Regions from separate parts of the Homo sapiens genome. Here region 2 is linked to region 1. The links are contacts of gene promoters, found by promoter capture Hi-C in blood cells and fetal thymus (Javierre and others, 2016). All regions are on one chromosome and are shown on one strand. Each heading gives the region's core, a stretch centred on a gene start or on the middle of the fragment in contact. The rest is flanking DNA. Distances are from core to core; before and after follow the strand shown.

Region 1 (6,772 bases), core at 3,510-6,009:
GATCTTTCCACTTCGGGCTCCCTAAGTGCTGGGATTACAGGCGTGAACCACTGGGCCTGGCCCAGAAGGTAATTAATCTTAATATAAAAAGTAGGCTTCAGAGTTATGGAATTGCGGATCTGAAAAGTCCCCCTATCTCAAATATATACATCTCTAAAGCCATTGTACATAGTGGCCCATCAGGCCCCAAAGATTAAAAGATGTTTTCGGGAATAGGGCCAGGGTAGAGCAGAAAGAAGACTGGACAAAGTGTCTGAGAGACATGGAAAGAGCACCGGACTGGCTGGAAATTGAGTCATGGGTCCTACCTCCATCTGTGCCCTAACTACTTGTGCAAACCTGGACAAGCCAAAAGCTTGTAGGCCTGTCTCCTTTTACATATAAAACAAGAGCCTGCACCTCTAAGATCTCTTGCATTTGTGACATTTTGTGGCCTACATAACATTTGGAGGGAGAATTCTGGAAGGAAGGACAATGGTAAAGGCCAGAGAAGAGAGAGGCAGAGCAATGCAGTTGATAGGCTATGTAACTTGTATTTAAACCCATCAAATGGAACGATACCTAAGGTTGAAACATTTTTTTTTTTTTTTGAGATGGAGTTCTGTTCTTGTTGCCCAGGCTGGAGTGCACTGGCACGATCTCTGCTCACGCAACCTCCGCCTCCCAGGTTCAAGCCATTCTCCCGCCTCAGCCTCTTAAGTAGCTGGGATTACAGGCGTGTGCCACCATGCCCAGCTCATTTTGTATTTTTAGTAGAGACAGGGTTTCTCTATGTTGGTCAGGCTGGTCTAGAACTCTCGACTTCAGGTGATCTGCCTGCCTCAGCCTCCCAAAGTGCTGGGATTACAGGCGTGAGCCACCGCACCTGGCCAAAACAGATTGTTAATGATCACCAAGGAATATCCAACCAGAGGCTGATGCGTGAAATCAGGAATGTGCTAGGAATACAATATGCAGAAGAGCAGGCAGGGAGATTTTCACCAGGAGGGTAGAACCCCAAGACCAGGGATCCAGGAGCATTAATTTATTTAACAGTAGTTATTAGGGAGATTCAAGGAGGCAGGCTCATGCTTAACATGAGGGAAGACTGTGATGGGTACTGAACGTTGGGTACCGACATGGGTAAGGATGGTCCCCACTTTGAGAGATTGTGATACCAAGCTAGGATTTTGTAACCATTCATCTAACTAATATTTGTTGAGCAACTAACGAGTTATAGGTGCTGGGGATAAAAAAATGTCTCTGCCTTTCTGGAGCTTAAGTTCCTAAGTAGGGTAAATAAATAAAAATACCTAGCATGTTAGTAATAAATGTTAGAGACAGAAACAGCAGGGAAGGGCATTAGGATTGGACGAAAATGGGAGCAGAAACAGCAGGGAAGGGCATTAGGATTGGACGAAAATGGGAGCGGGTTCCAAATGTGATCTAGGCTCCAAAAGAAGGCAGGAAGGAGCCCAGCTCAAGTCTCAAGTTCTCTTGTTCACCTCCTTCCCTTCTCAGCATGAAGGGAAAACCTCCCTGGCTCAAGCTGTTGATGCCTATAATGAGTAAGACACTATTCCAGTTATCAGAACCAGAACAAGAGGTCAGAGTCCAACCGGCAGCAAGAGTAGATGATGCTGGCTGGACTCGGTGGCTTACACAGGTAATCCCAGCACTTTGGGAGGCCGAGGCGGGTGGATCACCTCAGGTCAGGAGTTCGAGACTAGCCTGACCAACATAGTGAAACCCCATCTCTACTAAAATACAAAAATTAGCTGGGCGTCCTAGCGGGTGCCTGTAATCTCAGCTACTCGGGAGGCTGAGGCAGGAGAATTGCTTGAACCCAGGAGGCAGAGGTTCCAGTGAGCCAAGATCTTGCCACTGCATTCTAGCCTGGGCGACAGAGCAAGACTCCCAGGCGGGGTGGCTCACACCTGTAATCCTAGCACTTTGGGAGGCCCAGGCAGGTGGATCATCTGAGGTCAAGAGTTCAAGACCAGCCTGGCCAACATGGTGAAACACCATCTCTACTAAAAATACAAAAATTAGCCAGACAAGGTGGCACGTGCCTGTAATCCTAGCTACTCGGGAGGCTGAGGCAGGAGAATCACTTGAACCCGGGAGGTGGAGGTTGCAGTGAGCCGAGATCGCACCTTTGCATTCCAGCCTGGGTGACAGAGCAAGACTCCATGTCAAAAAAAAAAATAATATATATATATATATATAATTGGCCAGGTGTGGTGGCTCACGCCTGTAATCCCAGAACTTTGGGAAGCCGAGGCAGGCGGATCACCTGAGGTTGGGAGTTCGAGACCAGCCTGACCAACATGGAGAAACCCCCGTCTCTAACTAAAAATACAAAATTAGCTTGGCGTGGTGGCACATGCCTGTAATCCCAGCTACTCGGGAGGCTGAGGCAGGAGAATTGCTTGAACCCGGGAGGCGGAGGTTGCGGTGAGCCGAGATCGTGCTATTGCACTCCAGCCTGGGCAAAAAGAGCCAAATTCTGTCTCAAAAAAAAAAAAAAAAAAAAAAAGAAAGAAATCTCTCTAGAGAAAATACTATTAAGAACATATGATAATTAAAATAAAAAAATTGATGAGTTAAATATGCAGGAAAAAAACCATATAAGAAAAGCAGAACTCATTCTCATTTCAGAGTTTTTATCTTGCAGAAGATCCTAAAGTTTGGATACAGCAAAGTAAAATACAGACTTTTGAAAAACAGTTAGGAATTCAAGTTCATAGCAACAGCTTCCCTCAAGAAAATTTTCAATTGATTTGTAATTTGGCCTATGAATTTGACCTGTGGCCTTCATGTCATGATAATTTGGGTCACTCTGAATATGCCATCCCTTGAACAAGGGCCTCTGCTAATTTTAAATGAATGCAGCTGCCCATTCGCCATTCTTCTATTTGCATCACAATATGTGGGAATAAATTTGCAATTAATAAGACATTTCCAGTAAGCAGTCAGATTGAGGAAATGAAGGACATTTAGTAAGTTTAACAAGAGACATTTCATTTTTGCCTTTTTGGACCTAAAAAAGGGAAAGAAAACAAGTTTATGTCTTTGACAACCTTGGTAGAGGCCTGAATTGTACCCTGGGCTACAGCATCTAAAAAAGCCATGTGACCTCAAACTTGATTTTAGTTAAACAAATAAAATATATATAGAAAAGTTTGTACCAGTCCTAAAAATGTCGATCTTCCTTTCCTCCCTCCCTCCCTCCCTTCCTTCCTGTCTCTTTGGTTCAATGAAAATGAATACTTTTCAGGTTTGATTCATGGAGAGGTGTTACATTTGAAATTGCCTCATTGAAACTTTTGGTGGTCGAGCACCTTAGGGTCTTCATTTCATCTTGCATCGGAGACTGCATTAATTAGTAATATATTGTCCAGATAGAGGGAAACAGAGGTCCTACGTGGGTATACCAGGAAATGAAGAGTCTGGAAGCCCTGCCCTAAGAGAAACAAATAAAGGAACTTCAAAGAGAAGGAAGTGAGGTACCCTGAGGAGAAGCTGGGATGTCTTAACAACTGCTTTGGGATTTTGAGCTTGCCCTTTTCACTGTGTAGAGTGTTCCTTGCCCTACTTTCCACCTGTTGAAGTTTTCCTCATTCTCCAAGGTCAGACTGAATACATCTACTGTGAAAAGTTTCTAGAACCTCTTGGGATCCATCTTCCTACTGGCAAACCCCCATAGCACTTGCTACTTATGTTGTAATACCAAGCAATAGTCAGACTTATCTAGGTCAAGTTAAGTAGGGGCTTGAACGCCACACTAAGGGGTTTAAGCTTTAAGCTTGTAGTCATGGGGAGCCACTATGCTTCTGAGGACAGGTGTGACTTACGACTGACGTTTAGGAAGGTATCAAAGGCAGACTGAGAAGCTCTTTCAGGTGTGAAAGGGGGTGGAATTACTCTCTCTCTGTTCTTTTTTGTTGTTTTTGTTTTTGTTAGCACATGACTATGGGCTAGGCATTCCGCTTGGTTATCCCGCTTCATAGACGTGAGCCCGGTTACTCCGACACACCGTGGCCCCAGGCAGCCTCCCCGTCCTCACCACCTTTTCTTCTGTCATCTGAGGGTAATTCCTCCCCTGCAGTCGTGCTTTCCGGGCTCAGCAATGACCTGCTACCTGCCACGTCTAGGGATCTGTCCCCTCAGTCCTCACGCTCACGCTTTCTGAGTCCATAACCTCCTTCCTGAAACGTTTTCTTCTCACTTCTCCCAAACTGACTGCATTCCCCCTCCGGTAGTTTGAAATTTGGAAGACTTTTTTTTTTTTTTTTTTTTTTTACCGCAGACGCTTAAAACGAAGCTTAATTAGTCAAGGACAGCTATGGGTGGAGACTTGAAGAGATCTGAAGGGTATCTTGGAGCGCTTTAGACTTGAGAGGCCGGTGACAATAGCTCTAAAGAGACCCGTCAAAGCCTGCGGATTCTTCTTTTAACAGCTCTATTCTCATGCATGCACGCCAGGGCTGGGGGGAACTTTTGTTGTTTGTTTGTAATAGAAATCGAGAAAGGGAGTGGGGCCCGCCTCTTTTCTGACCTAAGGGCAGGAGTGAGGGGCCGGGAGGATTACGGGCGGCTCCCCCTAGACGCGCCCCCAGGCGAGCTGGAGACTGGGGCACTCCTTGCTTGGTAGAGGGGCGGGGCGCGCCTAGCGGCCACGCGCGCGGGCGTCGGAGGGGGCGTGTCTCGCGGGCGCGCGCGGGCGTCGGAGGGGGCGTGTCCCGCGGGCGGTGGCGGCGGCGGCGGCGCGGACTGGGTGCGCGGCGCAGCGTCCTGTGTTGGAATGTGCGGCTGCCGCGAGCTCGCGGCGCAGCAGCGGAGCGAGCGCCGCCGAGGCCCGGGGCCCCAGACCCTGGCGGCGGCTGCCGCAGCCGAGACGGCAGGGCGAGGCCCGGAGGCCTGAGCACCCTCTGCAGCCCCACTCCTGGGCCTTCTTGGTCCACGACGGCCCCAGCACCCAACTTTACCACCCTCCCCCACCTCTCCCCCGAAACTCCAGCAACAAAGAAAAGTAGTCGGAGAAGGAGCGGCGACTCAGGGTCGCCCGCCCCTCCTCACCGAGGAAGGCCGGTAAGTGGGGCGCTGGGCTGGGGGCTCGGTCAGGGTGGGGGAGGGCCGCCCGGGCGGCGGCAGTGGCGGGACGGGGAGGGCGCGGAAGGACGCGGAGTCAGGCGCTGTCCAGGGCTGATTTGCAGATACTGTGGCTCCGGCGGCGGCGGCCCCGCCGGGCGGGGGCTGGCGGCCGAGCAGGATCGGGTTACACAGCAGCCGCCCGGGGGCTGGGGGCGTTTGTTGGGAGCAGCGCGTCGCCTGGACCCCCTCCCCACTGGAGGCTGGGACGCCGCCTCCGCGCTGGCCCGGACGCTCCACCGAGTCAGGTCCTTTGAGGCCAAGGAGCGGAGCTGCTCGGGCCCGTAGTCCTGAAACTTCCTCTGCTTCCTCCTCCTGCCCCCGGGTCCCACCGCAGCCCCGCGCCGGCCCGCGGCCCTCCTGGCCCCCTCCCCCAGGGCCTCTCCCTGTCGCCGGAAGGCGCCGTTGAGTGCGGCCGGGCGGGTTGAGTCAGCCCCGGGGCCCGGGCGGTTCCGCCTGCGGGGCTGGACAGCGATTTCTGCGCTTCAGCCGTCCGGCGCCGCTGGCCCCCGCGTCCGGCCACCCGACCGCTGGAGCTGGCGGGGCTGGGGCGCGCGTCCTGCCGGGCGCCGTGGGGGAGTGAAGTTCGCAAACTTCCGGGGCGCGGGGGTGGCGGCTGGCCCGTGTGGGGGCCCCCTCCGGCGCTCGGAGCCCGACGCCTCGCGAGGGCGCCCGCGGAGCCTCCCCGGCCCTGGGCGTTGGGCGAGCCCCGGGGCGGTCGGAGGGGCCCGGGGGCGGTCGGAGAAGCCCGGACGCCGGCTGCGCGGTAACTTTCCGTCCTCTCCCGGGACGGGGGCCCTAGGGCTGGGGAGGGGGCTGCCTGGACTCGGGGAGGACTGGTTCCGGCCAAACAGCGCCTCGAGCTTGATCCCCTCCCCCGTTTTAGTGTTGGAGAGCGCAGGAAAAGGCTCAGGACGAGTGTCGGGGCGACTCCCGCGAGTTGGTGTGTAAATGTGTGCAGTGAGCGGGCCGAGGCGAGAGGAAGCGAGAGCGCCCGAGTTTGCAAAGAGCTGCTTTGTGTTTGGTATTTTGAGAAAATGGCCGAATGCCTATTTCAGTTAGGAATGCCGCCGCCGAGGCAGGCGCTGGTGGCAGCAGCACGGAGGAATTCGTGCAGCACGTTGGGCTTTCGGGCTGTGCCTGGACGGTCTTCCTAACAATCGTTAAAATTCCATTTGGGGTGGCAGTTAGGGGTTAGGGAGCAATTAGAAAAGTCGATGTTGGGCCAAATTACCCAATAGCTTGGGCTGTTCAGCCCCGGGACAGCCTTCGCCCTCTGTTTTCTGTGATGGCATTTGCTTCCAACTTTTGTTGGTACGTAGAACTAAACCGGTTTGTGTTTATACACTTGGGTGAAGCGGGTTACTTTTTGTATTTTCGGTTTAACTTTATTTTCTTAGAACTTCTTACTTTTTTTAATTTGCGAGTGAACACTTCGTTTGAGAATGGCACCTTTTAGATTGAGAAGTAACGTAGCATCTAGAAAGCCCAACTTGTTTTGAAGAAGGTGATCTTGTAATGGCTTCCACTAGGCAAGTAGGCCAAGTCAAGCACAATGCAAGAAAGTTGCTGATTGTCGAGTTGAGTTGCACGATGATTTTATTCGTATTGAAAAGCTTGGAATTCAGTGTTGTGGAAC
Region 2 (7,356 bases), core at 1,520-4,019, 5.1 Mb before region 1:
ATGCAGCATCATTAGGACTTGATTAGCTCAATGCAGAATAAGGTGAAAGTACTCAATTCAGAGAAGAACATGTGGTAATGAATGAATACATTTTTATTCAAATACTTTGTTAATTCCCTAGGCAGGTGTGATTTCCATAAAATAAAAGGTCCTGAGTAAAAAGGAAAAGAGTCAGTTTAAGAATTCTATGGCTGTACTGGAATAAAATATTAGCAAAAAGACTTGCTAATGCTACCCTGATAGTGATGTGTTAAGAAATCTTAGGCCGGGCGCGGTGGCTCACGCCTGTAATCCCAGCACTTTGGGAGGCCGAGGCGGGCGGATCACGAGGTCAGGAGATCGAGACCACGGTGAAACCCCGTCTCTACTAAAAATACAAAGAATTAGCCGGGCGCAGTGGCGGGCGCCTGTAGTCCCAACTACTCGGGAGGCTGAGGCAGGAGAATGGCGTGAACCCGGAAGGCGGAGCTTGCAGTGAGCGGAGATCGCGCCACAGCACTCCCGCCTGGGCGACAGAACGAGACTCCGTCTCAAAAAAAAAAAAAAAAAAAAAAAAAAAAAAAGAAATCTTAGAAGTTAGAAATAATTTACAAATAAATGATATTTTCTCTATATCCAGGAGAGGCAAAAAAAAATCATTGCTAAACGAAATTAAAACTGAAACACAGATGTCAAATATAATTGGAAAATTCTTAGCTTTTCTGAGAGATTTCTAAGATGGCTCCTTCATGAGGAAAGATATCAGGATTTTCTAGAAAATTTAAAAGTATAGGGCCAGGCACTATTGCTCATACCTGCAATCCCAGCACTTTGAGAGGCTTGAGGCGGGCAGATCACTTGAAGTCAGGAGTTAGAGACCAGCCTGACCAACATGGTGAAAACCTGTCTCTACTAAAAATACAAAATTAGCCGGGCATGGTGGCACACGCATGTAGTCCCAGCTACACGATGAGCCACAAGAATCACTTGAACTCAGGAGATGGAGATTGCAGTGAGCCAAGATCATGCCACTGCACTCCAGCCTGGGTTCTCAGTGATATATCGAAGTCGAGAATTTATAACATTCAGCAGAGCTTCATTAGACACTCTGAATAAATAATCTCATTTGCTGTGGGGATAAGGTCAAAAGGGTAAAATAAATAAGAATTTAGTAACCTGGATGTAATCCTTCTGACCCATACTTTTCATTATATAGATCTATAAAAGGAGCCTGAGTGGCTAGATGTTCATCCCTAAAAAGAGGCCTGGTTTCACTTTATTTATTTATTTATTTATTTGAGGCAGGGTCTCATTCTGTCACCAAGGCTGGAGTGCAGTGGCGTGATCTCAGCTCACTGCAGCCTCCACCCATAGGGCTCAAGGGATCCTCCCACCTCAGCCACCTGAGTAGCTAGGATTACAGGCAGCTGCCACCACACCCAGATAATTTTGCATTTTTTTGTAGAGATAGGGTCTCCCTGTGTTGGCCCAGACTGGTATCAAACTCTTGGGCTCAAGTGATCCACCCACCTCAGCCTCCGAAAGTGCTGGGGTTTCAGGCATGAGCCACCATGCCCAGCCTGATTTCACTATCTTTTGAGAGCATGTTAACAACCATATTATTGTATCCTTATAAATAATCTCTGAGGTATATAGGGGCATATATTAACCTGATTAAAAAGAGAAGGAACTGGCCAGGTGCGGTGGCTCATGCCTGTAATCTCAGCACTTTGGGAACTGAGGCGGGCAGATCACCTGAGGTCAGGAGTTTGAGACCATCCTGGCCAACATGGCAAAACCCCGTCTCTACTAAAAACACAACAATTAGTCGGGTGTGGTGGCGTGTGCCTGTAATCCCAGCTACTTGAGAGGCTGAGGCAGGAGAATCACTTGAACCCAGGAGGCAGAGGTTGCCGTGAATGGAGATCCCACCACTGCACTCCAGCCTGGGCGACAGAGTGAGACTCCGTCTCAAAAGAGACAGAGAGAGAGAGAGAAAAGGAAGGAAGAAGGGAAGGAGAGAAGGAGGGAATGAGGGAGGGAAGGAAGGAAGGAAGGAAGGAGAAGGAAGGAAGGAAGAAAGGAGAAGGAAGGAAGGAAGGAAGGAAGGAGGGAAGGAAAGAAAGAAAGAAAGAAAAGAAGGAAAGGAAGAAAGAAAGAAAGAAACTAAAGCCCAACACAGGAATATTAAAAACATGGAGTCTGGCTACTTAGGGGCACGTTTACTTATTAGCTGGGTGGCAAGTTACCGAAGCTCTTGAAGCTTCAGTTAACTTACCTGTAGATTGGGGATACTATTAGTTATTAGTACTCCACTGTGTTGTTGTGAAGTTAAGTAGATTAGTTTACCAGTACAGTACTATTAGAGTAGTGCCCGTCACATAGGAAGCATTAAGAAAGAAGTTGTTATCACTTGGGACAGCAAATTCAGTTGGTCATATTTGGAGAAAGAAAACTATCCTGCCCTCTATGGATAAATTCTCCTTTCGGAGGGGGTTTATTTTCATTTCCAAATACTAGAAACCCACCTAGCCTGACATTTTATTACTAAAGGAGTTCTGCCAACTCTCTCACTGTAATCTAAGGCCAAATTAATTCCTCTCTGTCCTGTGTTCTTTCTTATTCTCTTTAAATCTTACCAGGGACACATTTATCTGTCTGTGCAGGCCCAACTTATTTTCAGTCTCAAGAACTATGCTATTCTTCCTCCTACTCCCAATCCCAACACATGCAGGAAAAGCATGCTACAGTGGGCTTAGCAGAATTTAGGGGAAAGCGTAACATTTGATTGAAGAGCTCTGCTGTTTTTTTTCTCTTACTAGACTTCTCCATATCACATTCTAATCTAGGCTTAGGGCATTTCAAAATATATCTGATTAAAATTAATATTGTATGACTAATAAAATAGAAAAATTCCAATTAAATTAGGTATCATTAACATGGAGTAACTTGCTTCAATATTACCTTAAAGCAGTAACTGGGTGAAATGAAATGGCATAAAGACTGCATCTCCAAATATCTCTACCCATCACAGTCCCAAGATATTCAATTATTAATTTTTTTCTCCAGGGATTCAAATATAAATGTACAGAAGTATAACATTATTATCTCAGTAAACCTCTCCATGGGGATCATGTTCTTTGGGAATACTACAAATGAGAAAAAAAAAAGTGAAGTATTGATTTACATATTGAAAAAAATCCTGAATGAAATACATAAAAAAGAAGGCAACATTTCAACCATGAAGCAGACTTGTATTAGATTGGCATAGTAACTTTCAGATGGGAAGGGAGAGTAGTTTACCTATCTTTGGAATTTGAAGCTTTGATATTAGACAGTGTGGTACAGGGGATAGAGTTGAGAAACCTGAATTTAAGCCCTGTTTTGTTATCAACTAGCCAAGTGACTCAGATTAAACATTTAACTCCTTTGGATGTCAAGTCTCTTATTTTTAAAATGAAGATGTTGGATTTGATAATCACCAAGGTTCCTATCCAGATCTAAAATTTCATGTACGGTAAACATTCATTTTAAGGGGTATGGTTAACCAGTGCCTACCACAATATTTGAAAGCATTGTACTAGGTGCTAGGCAAGTAAAAAGATAACTATAACAAGTTTCCTGATATCAGAGGTTTATATGGTGTGGATTATTTAAATGACCAGGTAATATTTGCAGAGCATTATGTAGTCATTTTATTATACTTTGTAAAACGTGGGGGCAGTGAGGGTCAGCCGACTAGGAATGAGCTTTGCCTCTCAATCCTTAGGCTATAGCTGACTCTTTATAAAGATCTGGGTAAATTACCTCTAAGTCTGTTTTCTACTTGAAAATAATCATACTGACTCAACTGAAAGCAATGTTGAGAAATAACAGAGGTTGTACATTCTATAAATTTTTATGGACACCATGCATATGCCAGGCCAGTGTTGGGAGCTGGGGCAAAGCAGCCGACCCATCCTTCATCTAGCTTAACTCTTATACACATTATTATAAAGTATGCTGCAAATAAATTAATAGAGCAAATGACTAGCTATAATTAATTGTGGGCTTATTGTAATTTAGAGGTGTCACGAAGGAAGCCCTTTTCTGTGCAAAATAACATGTGTCTCAGTCTTTGAAGTACCATGGTAAACGGTAAAAAAAAAAATCATAAATATTACACACACAAAAGATTTGAAACTTGTATTAAATGACATATAATTTATTATTTCCTAGATGTAGATTAAGCTGAAACATAAATAGAATAAAGAATGCAGGAGCAGCTTCCCTGCTCAGAGTAAGGGCGGATATTCTTACTGCTAGATCTGCCCAACAAGCAATCCCCTATCTCAGAGTCCAGAGGTACCTACCCATCACTGTGGGGCCCCGCTGAGGTACTGTCATGATAAAGGTGATCAATAAGGATGTTCTATGAGAGATTCTTGTCTTGCGAAAGAACCTGAAGCAAATAATAAATAACTTCAGGTACAGTTCTGAGATTCCATAAAGTGATTCATAAATGTTTGAATGATAAAAATATTATATAAATAGTATTATAAGGATGTAATTTATTAAAGAGAAATTAGCGATTAAGATGGAGGGAGCATTTTACCATGGGAGTGCTGTGGGACACAGAAACTGGTTTGTCTGAGCCCCTTCCAAATAGCATAACATTTGTGTCCTGATTTAAAATCTAAATTTCAGAGCCTGGAAACCCAAAAGCCTGGGCTGTAGAAATCTAAAACCAAAAAGACCGTGCGTTCTGTTACCTGTGATTTGTGGTGTCACCTACTCTTTGAGGCTCCCAGATGGCCCAGGGCCTTAGGATATGGGGATGCCTTGTAGGTGTGTTGTTGTTGGAGTTGGTGGCTGGGATGAGGGTGGAGGCAGGGTAGGGTGGGGGTGGGTTGGGGTGGGGGGAATCCTCCGTTAATATCTCGAAATATTGTTCTGTTACCATAATGCGGTGTGATAAGTTAGCTTCAAGTATTGAAAAATCAGGGCAGGACTCATGGAAATGGTGCGAATTCTTGACTTAGGGTCAGAAGAATTCACCAAAATTAACGTCTCCCTCTGCCAAATAACAGCCAGTTTCAATTTCTGGACGGCCTCTCCGCGGGAGTGACAGGTTTTCTTAGATGCCGCCGGGGGTCTTTCACGGGCTGGTGGTCTGCCCCCTGGACTCGTCCATGTGTTAGGCTCAGTCCGCAGCTCAGAGCGCGGCCCTGTATTTCTGTCTGATGTCTGGGGCATACAGATGTGTGTGACGGACAATGCTCGTGGCATTCGAAGCCTCTTTAACAGACATTAGTGACTAGAGGAAAGAAGTGTGCGAACTCTGCGAAACAAGTATGCGGACTCTGGAAAAGAAGTACATTTCGAAAGTGGGGAGAGGATGGATCTTCGTAGGAGAAATGGAAATTTGCTCCCCACCAGAAGGTTTGCTGGAAATTAAGACGCGGCAATTCTTAATCCAGTTTCCTGCGGTAGGAAGCAGCTGACAAGAGAAGTCCCAGTCCGAGTTCGGCGCGAACTGGACAAGTGTCGTGGGACAAGTGGCGGGAGACCCGGCCGCGTCGCGCCGGGCGCTAGGGACGGACGCATTTCCCTACTTCCAGCAGCTGGTACGAGCCGCCCCCAACTGCGCTGCGCTGCTCTATTCTTTGGGAAACACTTCGCGTGCTTTGTTTCAGACGCCGACCCATCTTTCTTGGTGGGTCTCCAGCTCCACCAATCCCGCCCGCCACTGGGCGGGGTTTCAGGGTCAAGGTGGACCAATTTCCCAGCTTCGCCCCTACACGCGCTCTCGGACCCCTGGGGGTGACTGACAGCAGCCGGGCCCAACCCGCTGCTCCGGAGCATGGCCTCCGCCAGGGGCGTTACGGAGACAAGGCCCCAGGACCAATCGTATTGGCCAGTGGGGGGCGGGGCCTCGTTGCCAGCTCCAGACCGGCGCTATGGGCACTCCTTTTGTCAAATGAGAGACGCAGCAGGGCGGCCCCTGAGCCGCGGTTTAGCCAATGGAGAAGGCGAGATGGGCGGGCTGGGAGTGCCCGGCGGCGGGTCCTCAGCTTCGAGCCGAGGTGCAGTGAGCTGGTGGGGGGACCGCGAGGCGAGCGCGGGAGCCTGGGCGGCGAGCCGGGTGTGAGCTGCCTGAAAATGCACTCGGATGCCGCCGCTGTCAGTGAGTAGCAGAGAGCCAGCCAGCGGGCCGGGGCCGGGCGGCTGCCAAACTCGCCACTCGGCTCCCGCAGTCCCCGCCCCACGCCTCGGGTCCCGAAACGCGCCGGGAGCCCCTGCCTGGGAACCACCCCTTCCCCTCCCGGGGCCGGGGCGGGCGGTGACGCTGCGGGCGGCGTGGGGCGGGGGCGGGCGTGGGGGGAAGGGACCGGCCTGCGGGGAGGGCGGAGGTGAGGGGGGTGGGGACTGGCTCTCTTTCAGTGTTGGGGGAAGGGAGGGCTGGACGTGCGATGAAGGGCCGAGATCGGAGTGTCCGGGGTGCATGGAGGTGGAGGCAGCGTTGGGCTGTAGCGGGCAGGGCCGGGGATGTGGGGGGGTGGCACCGGCGGGGAGAGGGAGGGAGCGAGCGAGCGAGCGGGGCACAAGGGTGAGGATTTCCAAAGGGCTGAGTGGTGCGGGCGGCTCCGTGAGAAAGGCGGGTGAGTGCGAGGGGGGCGCGGGGGCGGGGACAATGGGAAGAAGGGCTGGTTGGCGGGGGGGTGGGGGGGGGGCGGCGAACAATGGGGTGGGGGAATGGGGGCAGCGGCCGAGCGGGGCAGGAGGGCGGGCGACTGGACGAGGGCTGATGTAACGGGAAAGCGAGGTGGTGGGAGGGACTGGGGTGTAATGGTAGTTGGGGAGTCCTGCGGGGCGGGAGGGGCGTTGGAAGGGCGGTGGGTAACGGAGAGTGGTGGGAGTGGAAGATGTTGGGGTAAAGAGATGGGGCAGGTGTGGAAGGGTAGGGCGATTGGGAGGAAGAGGAGAAAAAGGTGGGTAGGATTTGGGGTGGCAGAGTGGGGGCAGGGGTGGAGAATATGAAATGGGGGTGAGGAGCTAGTCGGGGAGGAAGGGGAGGTGGGGCGGAGTTGGGCAGGAGGACTGTCACGTCCAGATTCGGTCCGGAGCCGGGCTAAGGGGGTGTCAGACTGTGCTTAGGGGAGGTACTTCCTCTCCCTGTCGAGGCAGGGTCCCTTGAAGGGGGGAGTCCAAGCTTCGGGGTGCGGAGAGAGGAGGGGGCGGGGCTGAGGTGGAGGAGACGGGGTAAGTGCCCTAAGGTTGGAACTGGCCGTGGTTCCCCCCGGACGGCGGGAAGCGAGGTCAGCGCTGGCGCGGGCTCCGGCAGCGGGACTAGGAGGCGGGGCAGGGGTGCGGGCTGCGGGGTTTCAGCAGCGGGAG

What was found. The method cuts DNA at HindIII sites, captures the fragments that hold promoters and counts their contacts. A CHiCAGO score of 5 or more calls a contact.
Region 2: a contact is called between a fragment that was not itself captured here and the fragment with the promoter of REST in region 1, in 5 of 17 cell types (naive CD8 T cells, total CD8 T cells, total CD4 T cells and 2 more). The highest score is 7.9, in naive CD8 T cells.

What each region holds. Positions count from the first base shown.
Region 1 is chr4:56,903,141-56,909,912 of GRCh38, forward strand. REST (RE1 silencing transcription factor) reads left to right here and starts at 4,760. Exons shown (of 4, transcript NM_005612.5): 1 at 4,760-5,073. RefSeq lists enhancers at 4,217-5,146, 6,077-6,772 and silencers at 4,243-4,537, 4,637-5,026, 5,137-5,986. The HindIII fragment of the contact is 2,443 bases long and covers 4,305-6,747 here.
Region 2 is chr4:51,837,123-51,844,478 of GRCh38, forward strand. DCUN1D4 (defective in cullin neddylation 1 domain containing 4) reads left to right here and starts at 6,031. Exons shown (of 11, transcript NM_001040402.3): 1 at 6,031-6,145. The coding sequence starts at 6,121. RefSeq lists silencers at 5,759-5,908, 5,919-5,968, 6,059-6,408, 6,509-6,588, 7,139-7,258. The HindIII fragment of the contact is 1,059 bases long and covers 2,241-3,299 here.